Regions from separate parts of the Homo sapiens genome. Here region 1 is linked to region 2. Evidence: promoter capture Hi-C in human tissues and cell types (Jung and others, 2019). All regions are on one chromosome and are shown on one strand. Each heading gives the region's core, a stretch centred on a gene start or on the middle of the fragment in contact. The rest is flanking DNA. Distances are from core to core; before and after follow the strand shown. Region 1 overlaps IGF1R (insulin like growth factor 1 receptor). Region 2 holds the start of PGPEP1L (pyroglutamyl-peptidase I like).

Region 1 (5,478 bases), core at 702-3,201, 150 kb after region 2:
TTCTACAAAATAACTGGCCCCATGTTCTCCAAAAGTGCGAACTTCGTGAATGACTAAAGAAAACCCAGGAAAACGTCCCAGAATTAGAAAAACTGAACACAATAAATGCCAGGTAGGATCGTCTCTTGGATCTGGAACCAAAAAAAGGGACATCAGTGGGAAAATAGTGAAATCCGAATTCAGTCTGGAGATTAACAGCACTGGAGTATGGAGTGAACACTGTTTTGATAACCGTATTACGGTTATGTAAGATGTTAACATCTGTGGAAGCTGGGTGGAGGGTGTTCCAGAACTCCTGGTACTCTTTGTAACCTTTATGCAAGTCTGAAATTATTTCAAATTAAAAAGTTAATAAACGTTTTTAAAAGTTGATAAAGCAAAAGAAAACAACTTACAGCATGATCATCAACTAAGTTGAGAAAAAGACCTTTGAACTATAAGGATACATGCAAATCAATAAATGACTGACAAACTCAAAAATCCCACCTCCAATGATACACTTAACTTTGCATTCCTTGCACTTGAACCAGAGTTACTAAAAGCCGTGCACCTCAAGATAAAGTCACTGATAGCTTAATAAATAAGGTGAATCCCTAGTTTAGAGATATGACAAACCTCTACTTTTTACAGATGATTCCTAGAGAAATACTGTTGCTGGAGTTTATTCAGGCTGGTAGAGAACCGGGCATCCCAAGTTGAGGGCCCTTTCCATTCTGACATATTGCCTAGCATTTAATTTAGCTTAGATTTGTCTTCCAGCGAGGTGCAAGTGGGAAGTTAAGATGGTTGAAGGATGCAAAGAGGAACAGTCAACAAAATGCACGACAGAAAATTATGTGCGACTCTCCTGGATCCTTGTGACAACTCCTTGTCCTTTTTCTTCAAATGTAGTGAGAACTGTGTTTTTCTAACTTGCCCATATACCCTGCTCTATCATCTGCTACAGATAATATATGCTTCTGCTCTCTGCATGTTATACATAAAACAGATCAAATTCTTTCAACAGCAAAAATCTTTATTGCATTAGCAGAAATTTCCCAGCATCATAAGCCCTACAGTTTCCTGATCCACCACTATGTGGTAGGGAAGGCAATAAAAAGAGTTTGTCAGGGTTTCACCCAAATCTCATCTGAAAAGCTTGATCTACTTTTTTCCGGAGACCAGCCCCAAATGAAATGATCCTCATTGGGGAATAACAAAAAATTGAGGCCAAAAGTGAATGTGAAAAGCTACCATTTTTATTTTGTGTTCCCAGCATTATGGGATATGCAACAGAAGATGAGAATTCTGCTGTCAAGGAATGTACAAAATCCTTTTAGGTACATGTGCCCTATTTAGGCAGTATTACTGAAAGGAAAGGAGTGAGCGTACCATGGATTTGGTCCGTGCCTTGTACCAAGAGCCATGCTAAGGCTTCTCTGATTACATCCCCATAAGCTCCTTTTTACAGAAAGGAGACTAAGGTGCAAAGACTTGCTGACTTGTCCAGCATCAGAGGCTCAGAGGTGGTAAAGACGGGATACAAACCCAGAATGTCTTCACCCCAGGATCTAGGCTCTGTCAGACCATGCTGTCTCCCAAATGAAAACAAGTTTTGCTTGCAAAGGCTGCAACAACTAGGAAGTATGTAGTAGAGGGTGGAAAGCTAATGTCCCCTAGAAGCAGGGCCTAACCTGAGAACTGCGAGAGAGGCCATGGAGGTTGGGGTTATGAACACTAAGGAGCACCAGCGCTGCATGCAGAGGGTGTAAGGGTCCTCCCTACGCGGGTCAGCATGGTGAAAGAGAAGGACTAGGAGGGCGGAGCTAATAGTAGGAGGGGAGAAGACCGATAACAAACTTCTTCAGAATGTCCCTGCATGTATATTTATCTGAGAGGAAGGTGTAAGGAGGCCCTTCTAAAATACTATGTCATTGAACTAGGTGTGCCAAGGTCTTGTATATAGCACATCAAGGGGAAAGTGCATTCATTTGGAAGATTTGTTTTTTCACTACTGAGTTGGGCTTCGATGTGGGTAAATGAGTTACATTCATTTAAATTATTCCAGCAACTATCATGAGAGAGACAGACTGAGACGGAGAGATGTTCAGAGAAAGACAGAGACATAGATGGAGGGAGGGAGGGAGGGAAGAAAAAGAAAAAAAAATCATGCAAAGGAATAAATTTATCACACATTTATACCTCACCTTTCCAGAACTCAACTATTCAGCAAATAAACATTTCTGGGGTAGTCAAGCACCAGGAAGAAGCTTGGTTTCACTTACTGCCTATTTACTCTTAACACATAACTCTAACAAGCTTAGAAATCTGTTTTCAAAGCACTCACAGCAAAAAGGAAGTGGCAAATAATCACCTACAGAGGGGCTGATGGAGACGGCTTTCTCTTCTTACTGAAATAAGTCTATTAAACAGAAATGGAGACATAAAAATGGTAAAACCAAACCATAAGAACACAATAAGCACAAGAAACCTTCAGCAGAGGGCAAACTGCCTCCCACTCAGCCTTGAGGGTATCACTGTATTATGCATAATACAACAATTTATGCTCGCTGATGTCCTCAAGTTGGCCAGAAATGACTAAATTATATTCACTGGAGTAAGAAGCAAAGAAGTACAGAATACATGTTGGAAAGATTTCCAGCATGATAGTGCACAAAAACTGGTGCAGTAGTCTCAGTTCTCCCTAAGGCTTTAATGTATTTCATCATCTGGTCATTGCTCGATCTGACAAATATTTACTGAGCATATTGGAGAGACTTGCTGTGAGAGGCCTGGCTCCTGCTTTCACGGAGTTCAAAATCTACTAAGAAGCTGAGATACTCAAGATCCACATTTCTACTAGGATGGTCTGTACAAGGGTTTGGATTGTTGTACTAAGTGCTGCGCACTGACTCCGAAAATCATGACTTATTTTTGGATATGAGCAACTGAAATTGGCCTAAATGTTAAGAAACGGTGTGCCATTTCAAAAGTCTTTGATCATACAGTTCAGAGTCAAGGATCAGTCAATACTTCAAGAAACTCCAGCCTGGCCAACATGGCGAAACCCCGTCTCTACTAAAAATACAAAAATTAGCCAGGTATGGTGGCACATGCCTGTAATTCCAGCTACTCGGGAGGCTGAGGCAGGAGAATTGCTTGAACCCGGGAGGTGAAGGTTGCAGTGAGCCGAGATCGCGTCACTGCACTCCAGCCTGGGTGACAGAGCAAGACTCCATCTCAAAAGAAAAAACTTCAAGAAACTACCCATGTGGTCATGAAACCAAGAAGCAAGGCATGCTGCTTTGGCTGCACAAAAATATACAGTACAGAAGACCAACAGAACCACAATTCCTGAATTTCTTTCTCTTTATTGAAGAAATTAATTCTAACACATACACCTTCTTATATTTAGGCTAGGACATCTTATAACTAAATCAATCTATACAGTTAATCATGCATTTAAGAATGTGTGTGTTTGTTTTTTAAAGTGATATTTATTAAAAGGAAAAATCCTGGCTATCTGGACACTGAGAAATGCACAAGCTTGCAAAAACCGTAATTTAATCAGAAAACCCAGATACAGTAAAGTTACTTTTCATTTTCTTTTTGTTTCAGAAACCTTGCAAGAAGTTCTTTCCCTTCTTGAGGGCAAAGCTTACGAACTGGAAAGTTTCATTTTAATGGGTTCTTTCTTGGGGCAAAAACATGCAACACCAAATATTCTAGAGTGTCTGAGTGCAAACATCGCAGATGCAGTAGTGCAAAGGAAAAGCAAACACTTTAAAATCAAGTATGTCTTAGTTCAAATCCTGTGTTTACCACCTGCGAAGTGTGTGAGGTAGACAATTTATTTTTCCAGGCTTCCATTTGTTCTTCCGTAAAACAATGTTGGTAGAATCTACCTCATCGGCTGTTGCAAAACTAAATGAAATGTGCTTTCAATACACTGGTCATAATTATGCAGGTGGACATGCTGAATTTTTACACCGATCTCAATATACATGGGCTTTGTAACTGCAATGATAGCTCAGTGGAGCTCAAACTGGATGTGTTTCTAAAAGTCCAAAAAAAGTTTGGACTTTTTTTTTTTTTTCCTCCATTATGACATTTTACTTCTTGCTTAGATGAGAAGCTAAACCCTCCCCGGAGGCTGGGCTTCCTAATGAGCAGAATAAAGTTCTAAGGAACAACCACAACAGAACCAAAGGGTAGACTGAAAGTAGAATTCTGCCATTGAGGAGGCTTACTGGCCTTCCTCCCTTAAAAGCGTGAGCCACTATGTGGCATGTTCAGACTCCTTCAAACATAGCTGGTCCCAGATGTCACACGAAGTTTGGAAAGAGGAAGTTTGGCTGTTCAAAAATAAAAGCAGGGTGCTGATAAGGATGATGATGCTACTAAAACAGAGTGAGAGATTTCTCCCCGCAAACCCTGGCCACGGAGTGCTGTGCTGGTTTGCTGCGCTGAACAATGGAGGAGGAAGCCCAGGCGAGACCTCGTCCACGTTTATTAGCATCCTGAAAGGTGGAGTCTGTGCCTCCGAAGCCCAGAGTTCTCTAAGCCTTTATATCTCGATTAAATGGCTGAGATTGTCCTTGTGTACTTGGGTGGATTGATGTTATTTCCAAAGCATGCAATTCATTTCAAGAGGGGAGAGGGAGGATTAAGTTGGAAATATTTTTCTATTCAAGGAGGAAAATTAAATATAACTGGAAATGTTTTCAGGAAAATGTTTTTATATTTCAATGTTTCCCCAGAGCACTGTGATCCCAATACATCACAGGACTGTGCTAGATTAAAAGGAATGAAGACAAAATGAATTTAAATAAAAACTGAAACTGACCAGCCAGGCTTTATTCTCCATATCTGAGGAAACAACGAAGCGGGGGGAAACTACAAATGAACCAAAACAAGAAATAAAAATCAACTCAACTAAAATTTTAAACTCAAATGAGTGTTTCAATTTTGTTTTAGAATTTTTTCAATCTAGTTTATTTTCATAGCCACAAAAGCTTTTGAATAGCCATGAATTGATAGCCACTTGATTGACAGAACCATTAAGACTTTTTTGGTTGTTTTCTCTTAATCATTTTCCTTAACGCTTGAATCCGCTGATACTCAGTTACAGAAGACGACTTGCTTGTCTTATAGTTCTTAGGTCATTACAAGTACTTAGTATTTGCTAATAATCAACACCAACAGCTCCAGGAAATGTGTACAATTAGACAGCTGGTTTAACTGGTTGTGTTGCATTTTTTAAAACGTGCATACCACCCCCTTTATGAGCCCTAAATATGACAGGAAAAATGGAATGTACAGGTCTCAGTTATCCTTATCAAAATAAACACATATTTTTAAGAGGAAAGAATTTTGTCAGTTAATCCTGTGTTAGATCTGTGATGTCCAGTAGCCATTAGCCACATGTAGCTATTCAAATTTAAATTAAAACTTTAAAAAAATCCAAAATCCAGTTCCTCCGTAGCACTAGCCACATTT
Region 2 (6,177 bases), core at 425-2,924:
TTGTTTTTTCTATTAATTTCAAAATTAGAGAAAACTTTAGAACAGAAAAAAATAAGTGAATTATGGGAAAGTGAAAACTGCAGGACACATTCCAGTTTAGTTAAAATAATAGCTCCTGTCAAATCAAAAAAAAAATGATGAAAATTTCAGCTTTGTTATCAGAAAAGTAGTATGGTTAAAGATGGGCAGTCTTTGCACTTAAGGAGTCTCCTTAAACACAAGTTCCCATTCCCAGACCTCATAGGTGAATGTTGATAGCAGAGTTGGACCCTAGCAGCAACCAACTTTACAAATGTGGGCATTTCTGGACGGGCGCGGTGGCTCACGCCTGTAATCACAGCACTTTGGGAGGCCGAGGCAGGTGGATCACGAGGTCAGGAGTTCAAGACCAGCCTGGCCAAGATGGTCAAACTCTGTCTCTACTAAAAATACAAAAAATAGCCAGGGCTGGTGGCAGGTGCCTGTAATCCCAGCTACTCCGGAGGCTGAGGGAGAGAACTGCTTGAACCTGGGAGGCGGAGGCTGCAGTGAGCCGAGATCGCGCCACTGCACTCCAGCCTGGGCAACAGAGCGAGACTACATCTGAAAAAAAAAAAAAAAGAAGAAGTGGGCATTTCTTAATGGTCCAATCTCTTCCTTTAACTGTGCAGAGGAAGCCAAGCCCCCACTGAGAGGTGACAACATGCTGGTAGGCCTCGCAGCCGTCACTCACTCTCGGCTCCTCTGCCTGGGCTCCCACTTTAACGGCACTTGAGGAGCCCTTCAGCCCGCCGCTGCACTGTGGGAGCCCCTTCCTGGGCTGGCCAAAGCCAGAGCCGGCTCCCTCAGCTTGCGGGGAGGTGTGGAGGGAGAGACGCGGGCGGGAACCGGGGCTGCACGCCGCGCTTGCGCGCCAGTGCGAGTTCCGGGTGGGCGTGGGCTCGGCGGGCCCCGCACTCCAAGCAGCCAGCCCGCCCCGCCGGCCACGGGCAGTGAGGGGCTTAGCACCTGGGCCAGCAGCTGTTAGTGCTCGACTTCTCGCGGGGCCTTAGCTGCCTCCGTGCGGGGCATGGCTCGGGACCTGCAGCCCGCCATACCTGAGCCTCCTCCCCCGCGTCATGGGCTCCTGCGCGGCCTGAGCCTCCCCCACGAGTGCCGCCCCCTGCTCCACAGGACCCAGTCCCATCGACCACCCAACGGCTGAGGAGTGCAGGCGCACTGCACAGGACTGGCAGGCAGCTCCACCTGCGGCCCTGGTGCGGGATCCACTGGGTGAAGCCAGCTGGGCTTCTGAGTCTGGAAGGGACTTGGAGAACCTTTATGTTTAACTAAGGGATTGTAAATACACCAATGGGCACTCTGTATCTAGCTCAAGGTTTGTAAACACACCAATCAGCACCCTGTGTCTAGCTCAGGGTTTGTGAATGCACCAATCGACGCTCTGTATCTAGCTACTCTGGTGGGGACTTGGAGAACCTTTGTGTCCACACTCTGTATCTAGCTAATCTAGTGGGGACGTGGAGAACTTTTGTGTCCAGCTCCAGGATTGTAAACGCACCCATCAGCACCCTGTCAAAACGGACCAATCAGCTCTCTGTAAAACAGACCAATCGGCTCTCTGTAAAATGGACCAATCAGCAGGATGTGGGTGGGGCCAGATAAGAGAATAAAAGCAGGCTGCCCCAGGTAGCAGTAGCAACTTGCTGGAGTCGCCTTCTGTGCTGTGGAAGTTTTGTTGTTTTGCTTGTTTGCAATAACCGTTGCTGCTGCTTACTGTTTGGGTCCGCACTGCCTTTATGAGCTGTAACGCTCACCGTGAAGGTCTGCAGCTTCGTTCTTAAAGCCAGCCACATCACGGACCCACCGGGAGAAACGAATAACTCCAAACACGCCACCTTAAGAGCCGTAGCACTCATGATGAAGGTCCGTAGCTTCACTCCTGAAGTCAGCGAGATCACGAATCTGCCAGAAGGAAGAAACTCCGAACACATGCGAGCATCAGAAGAAACAAACTTGGGACACGCTGCCTTTAAAAACTGTAACACTCACCGCCAGGGTCCGCGGCTTCGTTCTTGAAGTCAGTGAGACCAAGAATCCGCCGATTCTGGACACACCATGACGGAACTAGGTAAGTGATAGGAGCTAGGAGAGCTGCTCACCAGAGGAGGTAGAGACCAAGTCTACAAGTGCATCCGGGGTATATTGAGAAACCGGGTAACTTCTGTGAAATGAGGCAAAGTACAAAAATCCTCTGCATCCCACTCATGGCAAGGTGGGCCCAGCTTCTCAGGACAGGGAGTGGGAGACTAGTGGGAGCAAATGGCGCTTCCCACCTGTTGGCAGTGAAGAGGCCTGCAGCCCACACCAGGAGCTAATTAAAGGGAATTGTTCCTGGTTCAGAATCCCAGAAAGCCACCAAGGGGGGTCTAATCCGCGGGGGTGATCCCAATTAAAAGGGAGCGCTTTATATCAGGAGGACAATTCAGCAGATGGAGCCACGTGGTCCTGCTGTCACACTGAGCTCTCTAGAGGCCGCAGGGTGCTTGAGAGGCTCTGCCTGCTTCCCTGAAGGGAGCTTCTCCTCCCCAGACCTAGATGGGGACAGAGAATCATGGGTCTTCTTCCTCTTAATATACAGCTTCAGGAAAAAAGTATTTTCAGTTTAAAAAAAAGTTTAAGAATATTTTTAGAGACAGGGTCTCACTCTGTCACCCAGGGTGGAGTGCAGAGGTGCAGTTACGACTGACGGCTCAAGTGATCCTCCCGCTTCAGCCTCCCTGAGAAGCCAGGACTATGGGCATATACCACGTTTTGAAAAAAATAATTGATGCAGTCTTGCCACGTTGCCCAGGTTGATCTTGAACTCCTGGCCTCAGGCTATCCTCCTACCTTGGCCTCTCAAAATGCTGAAATTAAAGGCGTGAGCCAGTGCACCTGGCCAAAAGTTTGTTTTGTTTTTAAATAGAATTCTCCGAAAGATCAAGATATTGGAAAACAGCTTTTTCGATAGAGGAAATAGCCTCAAATGTTAGCCTTTTTCAGTTATTCTGACACATTAAAAAGAGGACTGTCTGCAGAGCCAGGTGGCATGCCACGGCTGTGGCTCACTGTCAGTGGCATGTTTAAGGAGTCCAGCACAGTGTCAAGAAAGCACTTTTCGCAGGTAGAACGCAGGGTGGTGAGCACAGAGCTAGCAAGCTTGCACAGACGCTAGCTAGGTGGCAAGCCTCTGTTCCTCAGGGCTGATGAAGCTGGGGACAGTGCCTGGGGCACAGAAAGAATCCATACAGGATCCGGTGCTGCGATCCTCGTTTCTCAAAACAGGAAACCTGAGCACAGAGGTTAACTTCCCTGAGGACCCACAGCTCCTAGGCAGCGGTGCTTGCAATCAATATTTTAAAGGCAGGCGCCATAAGATTCATCTATGGTTTTCTCTCTTTTTTTTCTGCTCACATCTCACATATTTTGTGGAATTAGTTTTCAGAGCAATCAAATTTTACCAAATCATAATGGCCAAACACAATGAGGGGCTCTGGCAGGGATTACTAAAGAGGAAAAAATAAGATCTAAGTAAACGACTTGTAGGGTAGCCCACAGTTCCTAGGACAGTACCTCTTTGAGCACCATGTGGTGTTCCGTCCCAGACATCCTTCTGTCCCAGGCAAACCGGGACAGCTGGTAGCCAAACCCTTAGCTCACCTTTGAACCATCCTGAACAACAAAGTGACCCAGACTCAAATGTCCAGAAAGTCCCTGCTGGCGCTCCAACCCGCTGTCCTGAGCTGGATCGTTCTGCTTTCAAGGGGCATTGCTTTATCACCCTCCCCTAGATCCTTGGCCTTTCGGGGCCCAGAACGCTACGGACGCCGGGCGGCCAGGAGGGGTTGGGCTCCCGCTCCACCCCGGTCCCCGGCGAGCACGCGGCCAGGCAGAGAAGGTGCCCGGAGCTCAGAGCGCGCAGAGCCCGGCCGCTGGGCCGCTGCCTGAGCCAGGGAGGCGCAGCGCGAGCTCCCACTTCGTCTTCATGGATTCCCAGCCCAGCTGCGTGGTGGTGACTGGTAAGACTACATAATTTTTTTCTCTCCTATTTGTTGCTGCTTTTAGCCTGCCCCTGGAATGCGCACTGGCCTGATCCTGGGTCTTAAATAGTTCCCTGAGGGAAAAAAAGAATGGCAACTGGTGGTGCTAATAATTCCAGATGGAAACGAACTTGCTGCTGTGCCCTATTAATAAACAATCAGGATCACAGGCATTTCTGCTTCTGTGGCTCATTCGCTTCAAGTAACTCTCGAGTGGCGGGCACGAAGGTGCCACTGGTGGCTTAGGCTCAGACCTTGCCTTTCAACCCAGCAGGGAGGAAGCTGAGGCTGGTACCTGTTTTCCCTGAGTGGGGCCCGAGGCACGTGAGGTATCCCTTGGGGGTGCAGGCTCATAGCAAGGAAGAGGGATCTATACGCCCAGAAACCACAGGGCCCTCACAAGGCTTGCAAACCCATCTACAACAGCCACCCGCAAAGGAACACACAGTCCCCACTTCCAGAGTAAGAACTTCCATTTTTCAGGGAGCTGTGAAGCACCCCCCGAGAGCCACTAGCTGGAGACCCTGAGCCCCAGAAGGTCAACTTGGAAGGAATGGTGGCTGCTCACTCCTGCAAACACCAGCACATCCAGAGTCACCCCCACCCACACTTGCCTCACCAAGTCAGCATCCCAGCTGGTCCCTGGGGGCCTGATCTTCACAAAGGTCTTTATTTTTATTAATTTTTTTTTGAGACAGAGTCTTGTTCTGTCGCTAGGCTAGAGTGCAGTGGCGTAAGCTCAGCTCACTGCAGCCTCCGCCTCCTGGGTTCAAGCGATTCTCCTGCCTCAGCCTCCCGAGTAGCTGGGACTACAGGTACGCACCACCACGCCCAGCTAATTTTTGTATTTTTAGTAGAGATGGGGTTTCACCATGTTGGCCAGGATGGTTTCGATCTCTTGACCTTGTGATCTGCCCGCCTAGGCCTCCCAAAGTGCTGGGACTACAGGCATGAGCCACTGCGCCTGGCCCTATTTTTATTTTTATATTTTTAATTTTTCTGAGACAGTCTCCCTCTGTTGTCCAGACTGGAGTGCAGTGGCTCAGTCATAACTCACTGCAGCCTCAAACTCCTGGGCTCAAGTAATCCTCCCACCTCAGCCTCTGGAGTAGCTGGGACAACAGGCACTCACCACCACACCCCCCAATTTATTTTATTTTAGTTTTTAGTAGAAACAGGGTTTTCCTGTATTCCCCAGACTGGTCTCTAACTCCCGGGCTGAAGTGATCCTCCCGCCTTGGCCTCCCAAAATGCAGGGATTACAGGCATGAGCCATCATGTCCAGCCTTCATTTTTAGTTAGACACATTTGGCCGGTTTTAAGTTTTCTGAATTGTGTTGGATGAAGAGGCAGGGTTTCCTGGATGAATGGGAAATTGAAAGTTGTGTCGCTTAATCTTTTCAGACTATAATTCTAACTCCTATCGACCTTCAGAGAAAAAGTTCTTTGGGAAACCTTTTATCTCCCTTGCTCTTATTTGTGTTATTTTGGTTCTGGAGATTGAATGGTTCAAATTACTCTTGAATTCCTAAGGAAACTGTACTCTAATGCATGCAATGCTTGTCATGAATGAAATATGAACATTGAAGCACCATCTTAGAATCACACTGACCCCTGCCTTTGTCTTGTCAGCCTGTGGTTTGCTGGCAAACTGGAAATTGTTTGATGAAATACCTGATAATCAGCCATGATTTGGGAATGCCCGCTGGATTCCAGAGCGTGGCCTTCCTGTGTTAGAAATGCTTAGAGCTGCCAGGGGCAGTCTCTTCATTTAATTGGATTTGCTTCGTGTGTAAATCTCCTCAAGACAATTGGCATGTAGACAGATGGTGGGAGAACGAGGGCTCCGACAAATTGCTTCGAGATCAAAGTGTTCAGACTGGCACCAACGATAACCACAAGAGTGAGAAAACGTGCATCCCTCCCACGGGCCTCTCAGAATTCTAAGATTTCTCCAGCTCCGTTTGCAAGTTGCACTGGGGGCTGACCAAGTTTAAAGTGAGGTTTGAACTTGAAACACAAGAGCTTCAAACCTTCACTTGCAGAGTTGATTTTTCTAATTTAAAACAGATAAGAGATGTCATATTTGCTGATACAAATATGATTCTAAAGCAGAATG

Evidence for each region. Contacts are between HindIII fragments. The study calls those that stand out against the background at their distance.
Region 1: a fragment that was not itself captured here is called in contact with the fragment with the promoter of PGPEP1L in region 2 in 1 of the 25 tissues and cell types used here (bladder).

What each region holds. Positions count from the first base shown.
Region 1 is chr15:98,857,677-98,863,154 of GRCh38, reverse strand. The region is part of intron 2 of IGF1R (insulin like growth factor 1 receptor); the gene reads right to left. Among named protein-coding and RNA genes, the nearest start is that of MIR4714, 76 kb to the right of the region's middle. The HindIII fragment of the contact is 3,260 bases long and covers 322-3,581 here.
Region 2 is chr15:99,003,289-99,009,465 of GRCh38, reverse strand. PGPEP1L (pyroglutamyl-peptidase I like) reads left to right here and starts at 1,674. Exons shown (of 5, transcript NM_001167902.2): 1 at 1,674-2,107; 2 at 3,810-4,037. The HindIII fragment of the contact is 12,693 bases long and covers 1-5,885 here.